3 separate regions of the Homo sapiens genome follow, and all the other regions are linked to region 2. Evidence: promoter capture Hi-C in 16 types of primary human blood cells and fetal thymus (Javierre and others, 2016). All regions are on one chromosome and are shown on one strand. The core of a region is centred on a gene start or on the middle of the fragment in contact, and the rest is flanking DNA. Distances in the headings are between cores, read along the strand shown. Region 1 holds the start of LOC105371812 (a long non-coding RNA gene). Region 2 holds the start of HOXB-AS1 (HOXB cluster antisense RNA 1). Region 3 overlaps SKAP1 (src kinase associated phosphoprotein 1).

What was found. Contacts are between HindIII fragments. The CHiCAGO score rates a contact against its expected background, and 5 or more counts as called.
Region 1: a fragment that was not itself captured here is called in contact with the fragment with the promoter of HOXB-AS1 in region 2 in 1 of 17 cell types (total B cells); the score reaches 5.4 in total B cells.
Region 3: a fragment that was not itself captured here is called in contact with the fragment with the promoter of HOXB-AS1 in region 2 in 1 of 17 cell types (total CD8 T cells); the score reaches 5.2 in total CD8 T cells.

Annotation. Positions count from the first base shown.
Region 1 is chr17:48,751,892-48,754,808 of GRCh38, reverse strand. It overlaps LOC105371812 (a long non-coding RNA gene), which reads right to left and starts at 2,381. Exons shown (of 2, transcript XR_007065830.1): 1 at 2,186-2,381; 2 at 95-1,694. RefSeq lists enhancers at 233-1,222, 1,275-2,192. The HindIII fragment of the contact is 2,934 bases long and covers 110-2,917 here.
Region 2 is chr17:48,542,546-48,545,637 of GRCh38, reverse strand. HOXB-AS1 (HOXB cluster antisense RNA 1) reads right to left here and starts at 1,287. Exons shown (of 7, transcript NR_102279.1): 1 at 1,226-1,287; 2 at 281-517; 3 at 74-143. It overlaps HOXB2 (homeobox B2), which reads left to right and starts at 529. Exons shown (of 2, transcript NM_002145.4): 1 at 529-1,117; 2 at 1,891-2,983. The coding sequence starts at 727. The coding sequence ends at 2,570. RefSeq lists an enhancer at 1,661-2,306 and a silencer at 2,114-2,403. The HindIII fragment of the contact is 10,206 bases long and covers 1-3,092 here.
Region 3 is chr17:48,371,988-48,374,872 of GRCh38, reverse strand. The region is part of intron 2 of SKAP1 (src kinase associated phosphoprotein 1); the gene reads left to right. Among named protein-coding and RNA genes, the nearest start is that of SKAP1, 57 kb to the left of the region's middle. The HindIII fragment of the contact is 4,305 bases long and covers 1-2,885 here.

The DNA of each region.
Region 1 (2,917 bases), core at 327-2,826, 210 kb before region 2:
TTCCAGAAGGAGCGTGGAATGGGGTTCCTCCGGTTCGGGCGTGTACGCGACATTGTTAACGTAGCGCGTATTATGTGCCAAGCACTGGGGCAAAGCGCTTTTACAAGCTTTATTATCCCCCAAACCACTTTATGAGGGGGATACGAGCCCCATTTACAGATGAGGAAACTGAACCCGAGAGAGTGTAAACCAGTATGTGTCCCAAGCAAGACTGGACGGGGCCGGTGACTCCACGGCCAAGCGAGATCTCTGTAGCCCTTCCCCGACCACAGTAGTTTGAACTTGAACTGCAGACACGGAATTCTAGTGTGGAGATCAGTGTGAAGCCACGGAGGGGAACAGCGCTTCGGGTTCCAGCGTGGTCACTTTCATTCCGTCACTGTTCCCATTAGGACTCCAGAGAAAGACTGGGAGGGAATGGTGGTTACGCCAATTTTACAGTGTAGGAAACAGGTTTATGTGCAGGTCATAGCTACTGCAGAGACAAGAGCCCATCCCGGGAAGGTCTTCTGATGTCCCAAACCCAGGAAGAGCTTTCAGCCAGGGCGTTCATCCTGAATTTTTCATGTGCCACGTAAATGGGGTGCTGAAACAGGCCCTGAGGAGTGTTGCTGCCACGGCACCTGGCCCTCCACAGAGCCCTTAGGTTTCCTGGTGTGGAGGACCACTGTGTGAACGACGAAAGGGAACTGAACTCTCCCTTCTTCCCTTCCTCCCTTCCTTCTTTGCTTCCTTCCTTCTGCTCACCGGCTGTGGAGAAGAGTGGGCTTGGGTGATTTTCCTGTGATTCACTTCCCAGTCATCCTAGTCACTCGGCTGAGACAGGGCAGAGGCCAAGTGTCCGAGGGTTTTTTTCTGGGACACGCGCAGTTTGGCCTTGGCAAAAATCCGAGAGGAAGATGAGGCAGGCGGGACATTATTTTGGTCACTAAGCACGGGGCTCTGCAGCGCTGGGCTCGCCACTGCATTGATTTAATTCCAGCATCAACTCTGCAGTTATTTTACCTATAAGGAGACTGTGTTCAGGGAGATGGAGACCGTTGCTTGGGCCTGAAGCTGCTGGGGAATGGGACTGGGGTCTAAGCCAGGTCTATGTAACCTCATAGCTTTGCCCTGCTCTGCCGGTGGCCCAAGAATGGAAATAAGAGTCAAAACAGCCTCCCTGCACACCAGCAACATTAAAAATGACAGCCACGAGATTCTTTCTTCTTTTTTTTATTTTCTTTTCGATGAGAGTCTCACTACATTGCCTAGGCTAGAACTCCTGGCCTCAATCGATGCTCCCACTTCCATCTACCAAAACGTCAGGATTACAGGCATAAGTAACCAAGCTCAGTCCAGTAACCATTTTCTTAAGGTTCAGTGACAAAGTCCCTCCCCAAGGAGTATGGATTTCCACTCTTGTGCTAGGGAAAGTTGAAGTATGTGCCTCTAACCCTTCACAGATGCCCACTTTCCCTTCAGAGAAACGTCCTTCAGGTGATTCTTAACAAACTGGAATCTGGAAGCTGTGCCCTCCAGCTTCCCCCGCCACCCAGCCCTTCCAGCTTCCCCGTCGTTTCCACAGTCGCATTCCCGAGGTCCGCGTGAGCCGTTCTTTAGCCAGACAGAAACTACGCCCCATGTGATTGATGCTTCTGCCTTGGCCTCAAGTAGGCAACGTGGCTGCCCGCTTGGAAGACCGCCCTGGTTTCCTGGCAGGAGAGAGGATTTCAGAGGTCTCCTCCACTCAGAATCCCTCCTTCCCCCTTCCCTCTCCCTGCCGCCCGCTCCTTTCTAGTCCCAACAGTTTCCAAAGCGCAGAGGATGTTTACCTGGACGGCCTGAGGTCACAAGCCTGATTCACCGCAGGCAGGCCCCCGAGCCTGCCCCCACCCGGCACCCCGGCTCTGCCAGGGCGAGGAGATCACGCTTGGAAACCCCACCCTGCCGGGCCAAGAAACACCCCCGCCACTCCCTAGACTCCCAGGCATCCCTACCGCGCCTAGGCCCTTCCTCCCAAAGGCGCTGGCCAGGCCCAGATGCGGGAAACCGTGGGAGAACCCGGAGGGGGCCCTGGGCGCTCTTCCCACCCGCCCCCCGTCCCATAACTGCCCCTCGCTGCCAAAGATTGAGGGTCGGGCTGAAGAGAGGGTAATGAGCTCCATTTCACCTCCGATTCATTTTAAAACTCGCGTGAACCAACCTGGGGCATTCCCTGACGAATGAACGGTTTTGGGTTTACTCCCAAACCGGGCTGAGAGACTCTCCTTCAGGCTTGGTGATGGAGGCCATAAGGCAGAGACAACTTGCTCCGTTTCATCAGCCAGGAGTTGGAAGTTCAGGGGATTTCCAAGTGAATCTCAGGATGAAGGGACGTTTGTCTTCTCCCTGTGTCCTCTAAGGATGTTCCCCTTCCCTTCAGAACCCTGAGGGGGTTAATGTTTCACCAGTCACTCCCTTCCTCCCTCTCCTGTCACCTGGGGGCTCCAAGACACACCCCAGCCCCTAACCCAGCCACTACCTTGTCCCAGGTTGGGTCAGTGAGGCGGGCTGTCCCCCAGGCAGCCCCTCCTCACCTGCACCGTCCCAGCCCCGGCTGGCGTCTGCCTGAGCTTGTTGCCTCGGCCCCCACCTGACCCCAACACACTGATAAGACCTCAGACTGCCAAACATCGTTAACTTCTTTGCCTTTCTAGACTTCTCAGCCTGTCCTTTTCCCGACCCCAGTCTGCAGGGTCGCCTGGAGGTGCGTCTGTGCTTTCCTAGGCAGTGGACTCCACCACACCACTGTTGTCTTTCGCCATACACTCCTCCACCCCAGCCCCCACCCTTCCTTCAGGCTTCTCGACTGCAGCAAACTTTCTGTGACACCCAGGTGGTCTAACAGTGTCCTCTCACCCTCTACCCCACCACAACTCACTTGCCTGCCTGGACA
Region 2 (3,092 bases), core at 38-2,537:
TGTTTTTGGAGGGTAACAGGGATAGTGGTGTGATGATTGTAAATCTCTTTCTTATTTTCACCTTAATACTGACCTTTTTCAAAGAGTGGAAGCCTCTTTCGACTCCCTCTTCCTCCAACGCGGAGATCCTCACTCATCTTTTCCTGGGGAAGGGGAGAAGGGAAGGGGATGCTGCTGGCCACGTAAAGAAGGCCTTAATTTACTCTATTAAAATACTTGGAAAAGAGGAAGGTTTCTCCCTTAGAGTCTCTTCTTTTCCAGGCTTCTGAAACCTTCTAACCTTCGAAGGGGATGAGGAAAAGGTTCCTCTAGCTTTTCTGGAGAAACGGAGGCATTGGGGAGAGAGCATGTGAGGCACTGGTGTAGGAATGGGGGCTCATGGTGTCCTGGTCGTGGTCCTCTGGTGTTTTTGAATCAATTAAACCAAATAATGCTCTCTGTTTTCCACCAGGCCCAGACGAGCGATTGGCGGAGGCCGGTCCCGTGACCACGAATTCCCTGTAATTTCGCTGGAGTCCTGGGTTTAATAGAGAGAGTCCCCATACGCTTGTATTTATCAGCAATATACAATTATAAAGGCCCAAAATTAAAAAAAAGAGAGACCGAAATCTCCCCCTCCCAAAATCGCTCCATTACATAAATCGGGGGGGGTGCAGGAGGGGGGTCCCTTCCGATCCTCCCTCCTGACGCCCCCCCCAGCAGCCCCCTCCCCCACCATTGAAAGCCATGAATTTTGAATTTGAGAGGGAGATTGGGTTTATAAACAGCCAGCCGTCGCTCGCCGAGTGTCTGACTTCCTTCCCCGCTGTCTTGGAGACATTTCAAACTTCATCAATCAAGGAGTCGACATTAATTCCTCCTCCTCCTCCTTTCGAGCAAACCTTCCCCAGCCTCCAGCCCGGCGCCTCCACCCTTCAGAGACCCAGGAGCCAAAAGCGAGCCGAAGATGGGCCTGCTCTGCCGCCGCCACCGCCGCCGCCACTCCCCGCTGCCCCCCCGGCCCCCGAGTTCCCTTGGATGAAAGAGAAGAAATCCGCCAAGAAACCCAGCCAATCCGCCACGTCTCCTTCTCCGGCCGCCTCCGCCGTTCCGGCCTCCGGGGTCGGATCGCCTGCAGGTCGGTAAGCGTGGTGGGGGTGGGGTGAGGGGCAGCTAGAAGAGGGGGAGAAAAAGCAGTGGAAGGAGGTTTAAAAAAAATGGTGGCGAGCCTGTTGGGGTTCCTTACCCCCTCCATTCCTGGGATGGGGAAGTAGAATATCCCACTGGGGTTCAGGCCTGGCCGCTAACAGCGTCTTTTTTTTTTTCTGTCTCTCTCTCTCTTTCTCTCCCTATGGCTGATTTTGGAAGCTGGTTGGGGAAACGCCTTTTTTTCTGCTAGAAGAAAATGATTTGATTGAGGTTTTCACCCGTATCTGTGTAGGGGAATGAGTATGTTGTTGCTGGGATAGACCCTAGAAGCAGAAAAGATTCGGTCCTTTCTGCCCCAACTCTAGGAGAAGAGGAAGAATTCAGAGCTAGGGAGGAAGAGGGGTGAAGAACAATCTTTCTGACCCTCGCTCCGGTTGAGTTGGAAAGTTCCGAATTGAGGGGTCCACTGGGAGGGCTTGGGAGGGGGATCTGAGGTTCCGGCGCCGAAGGGAGCCGCTCTCCGCCCCCTGCGTGGCCCGTGGGCGGCTCTGAATGCTTTGCCCTGACCCGGGCCGGGGCTGTAGACTAGAGAGGGAGAGAAGAAAACCCAAAAGCAGTAAAGCGAGCGGCTTTGGGGTGGGGGCGGGGGTGGGGTGGCGAGGAAGGGGAGAGGTGATACTGGTTTTGGAGGATGGGGTAGTCCGAACTGAGGTTGGGCTGAGTACACGGCCCGCTATGACGCCGAGCCTGTTTTCCCTGCAGATGGCCTGGGACTGCCGGAGGCTGGTGGCGGCGGGGCGCGCAGGCTGCGCACGGCTTACACCAACACGCAGCTGCTGGAACTGGAGAAGGAATTCCACTTTAATAAGTACCTGTGCCGGCCACGCCGCGTCGAGATCGCGGCCTTGCTGGACCTCACCGAAAGGCAGGTCAAAGTCTGGTTTCAGAACCGGCGCATGAAGCACAAGCGGCAGACGCAGCACCGAGAGCCGCCGGATGGGGAGCCTGCCTGCCCGGGAGCCCTGGAGGACATCTGCGACCCTGCCGAGGAACCCGCGGCCAGCCCGGGCGGCCCCTCCGCCTCGCGGGCGGCGTGGGAAGCCTGCTGTCACCCGCCGGAGGTGGTGCCGGGGGCCTTAAGCGCGGACCCCCGGCCTTTAGCCGTTCGCTTAGAGGGCGCAGGCGCGTCGAGTCCCGGCTGCGCGCTGCGCGGGGCCGGCGGGCTGGAGCCCGGGCCATTGCCAGAAGACGTCTTCTCGGGGCGCCAGGATTCACCTTTCCTTCCCGACCTCAACTTCTTCGCGGCCGACTCCTGTCTCCAGCTATCCGGAGGCCTCTCCCCTAGCCTACAGGGTTCTCTCGACAGCCCGGTCCCTTTTTCCGAGGAAGAGCTGGATTTTTTCACCAGTACGCTCTGTGCCATCGACCTGCAGTTTCCCTAACCTGTTTCCTCCTCCCGGTCCTTTCGACCCCCGCGCTCCTTGGCCGTCTACTGGAAAAATCGAGCCTCTCCCACCCTCAGTCGCATAGACTTATGTGTTTTGCTAAAATTCAGGTATTACTGAATTAGCGTTTAATCCACTCCCTTTCTTCTTCTTCTAAAATATTGGGCACTCGGTTATCTTTTAAAATTCACACAGAAAAATTCCGTTTGGTAGACTCCTTCCAATGAAATCTCAGGAATAATTAAACTCTAGGGGGACTTTCTTAAAAATAACTAGAGGGACCTATTTTCCTCTTTTTTATGTTTTAGACTGTAGATTATTTATTAAAATTCTTTAATAATAGGAAAAGGGGAAAGTATTTATTGTACATTATTTTCATAGATTAAATAAATGTCTTTATAATACCAAAACGAGTGTTTGTGTTGGGACCTAAACTCTTTCCCCGCGGCCCCAAGGCCGGTCCTCACCCCTCCAGGACCTGTGCGAAGTTGATTAGGTTCAGCGGCCCATATGGCAGCA
Region 3 (2,885 bases), core at 256-2,755, 170 kb after region 2:
GCCTTGGATGCCTCCACTGGGGACTTCCACCAGATGGTGCTGTTTTCCCATTTCTGTTGTTGGGTGTCACTGGCCATGTTACTCTTTGCCACTAGTCCATACCTTCTGCAAGGTAGTAGATGGGACACTTTCAGAAGATAATTTGGAAGCAATGTGAATCTTTCCAAGTGAGAAAAAGAATTATAGGAAATATTTAGTGTACAGACTCTTAGCATTGCTCAGCAAAGCCATTTCCTTGGGCATAAATAAACTTCTACCATGTGGCTGACTGCTCAAGATCAGTTGCAAGGGGTTTTCCTAGCCTTATCAACTTGCATGGAATCCATGCCCAACTAGGTGTCCGTCTGAATCCTAAGATTCCATTTTCAATGCAGGATAACTCTTCAGTGTTAGCCTTTGCAGTCTGTTTGGAGACAGCCATTATCAGAGAACAGAGATGGTCAAGAGAGAGATAGAAGTCTTTGGACACTGAGTATTGCAGACAGCCTATGCATTCAGAAGGCATTGCTGTTTTAGTACAAAAAGGAAGTTCAGGCTGAATGCAATGGCTCACATCTGTAATCTCAGCACTTTGGGAGGCCAAGCAGGCAGATTGCTTGAGTCCAGGAGTTCAAGACCAGTCTGGGCAACATGGTGAAACCCTGTCTGTACAAAAAAAAAAAAAACAAAAATTAGCCAGGCATGGTGGAGCGTGCCTGTAGTCCCAGATACTCAAGAAGCTAAGGTGGAACGATGGCTTGAGCCTGGGAGGCAGAAGTTGCAGTGAGCTGAGATTGTGTCACTACGCTCCAGCATGGGCAGCAGAGCAAGACCCTGTCTCAAAAACAACAAAAAAGAGAAGTTCAAATTTGGATGTCCTTAAGTCATTAAGAAGAGATTTGATTTTGTTCAGCAGGAGTTTACCAAGGCAGAGAGTATATGATGTGTTTTAAATTTCCATAAGTCACAGGTAAAATAACACTTTTAATACTTCAGTTGCAAAAAAAAATTCATCTAGATGTTCTAGAGTTATAACATCACAGATGTTGGCCTTTCTGGGTAGCTAGTTTTATAATGCCATTACAACTCTATTCACCTAATTCAGTGGGTCATATCATTTTTGGTGGGTGTGGGGCAAGGGTGAGTTATTGACACTAATGAGGTCTATAGACTCTTCTCCAAGAGAAAAGAAAACAAGTGTTACATTTCACCCACAATTTTAGAGAGTTTAGGAAATCCCCTGAAGCCTAAACTATGGACTTCAGGTTAAAGACCTCTGTCTAACCACTCCCTAATATTCATATTAGGGTTGATTCATGCCCATAGGCTATCTAACAAAACAACTGTATCTTCTCTTAAGTACCAGATTTATTTTTTTTTATATATTACAGCCAATAGGAAAGCAGTTAATATGGAATTTAAGAGCTTGGGCTCTGGAACCAAGTAGACCTGTGATATGGTTTGGCTCTGTCCCCCCACCCAAATCTCATCTTGAATTATAAACCCCACATGTCAAGGGAGGGACCTGGTGGGAGGTGATTAGATCGTGGGAGCAGATTTGCCCCTTGCTGCTCTCATGATAGTGAGTGGGTTCTCACAAGATCTGGTTGTTTGATAAGTGTCTAGTGCTTCCCACTTCTCTCATGTTCTCTCTCTCTCCTGCCACCCTGTGAAGAAGGTGCTTGCTTCCCTTTCACCTTCCACCATGGTTTTAAGTTTCCTGAGGCCTCCGCAGCCATGTGGAAGTGTGAGTCAGTTAAACCTCTTTTATTTATAAATTACCCAGTCTCAGGTAGTATCTTTATAGCAGTGTGAAAATGGACTAATACAACCTGGATACAAATCTTGGTTCTGCCACTTAGTAGCTATGTGATCTTGGCCAAGTTGTTTGACCTTCCTGAGTTTGAGTTTCCTCATGTGTAAAATGAGGATAATAGTAGTCCTGGGCTGGGCATAGTGGCTCATGCCTGTAATCCCAGTGCTTTGGGGAGGCCAAAGCAGGAGGATCACTTGAGGCCAGAAGTTCGAGACCAGTCTGGGCAACATAGTGAGAATTTGTATCTACTAAAATGAAAAATAAAGGAAATTAGCCAGGTGTGGTGGTGCACACCTATAGTCCCAGCTACTTCGGAGGCTGAGGCAGGAAGATTGCTTGAGCCCAGGAGTTCAAGTTTACAATAAGCTATGATTGCACCACTGCATTCCAGCCTATGTGACAGAATGCAACCTTGTCTTAAAAAAATACTGACCTCCTAGGGTTTTTATGAAGATTAAATAAAATAATACATGTGCCGGGCATGGTGGCTCACGCCTGTAATCCCAGCACTTTGGGAGGCCAAGGCAGGCAAATCACCTGAGGTCAGGAGTTCGAGACCAGCCTAACCAACATGGAGAAACCCCTGTCTACTAAAAATACAAAATTAGCCGGGCATGGTGGCACATGACTGTAATCCCAGCTACTCGGGAGGCTGAGGCAGGAGAATCACTTGAACCTGGGAGGCGGAGGTTGCGGTGAGCCAAGACTGCACCATTACACTCCAGCCTGGGCAACAAGAGCAAAACTCCGTCTCAAAAATGAATAAATAAATAAAATAACACATGTAAAACATATACCTAGCACAGGGCCAGACGTGGTGGCTCATGCCTGTAATCCCAGCACTTTGGGAGGCTGAGGTGGGTAAATCACTTGAGGCAAGGAGCTCAAGACCAACCTTGCCAACATGGGAAAACCCCATCTCTACTAAAAGATAAAAAATTAACTGGGTATGGTGGCACACGTTTGTAATCCTAGCTACTCAGGAGGCTGAGGTACGAGAATCGCGTGAACCCAGGAGGCAGAGGTTGCAGTGAATGGAGATTGTGCACTGCACTCCAGCCTGGGTGACAGAGTGAGACTCTGTCTCAAA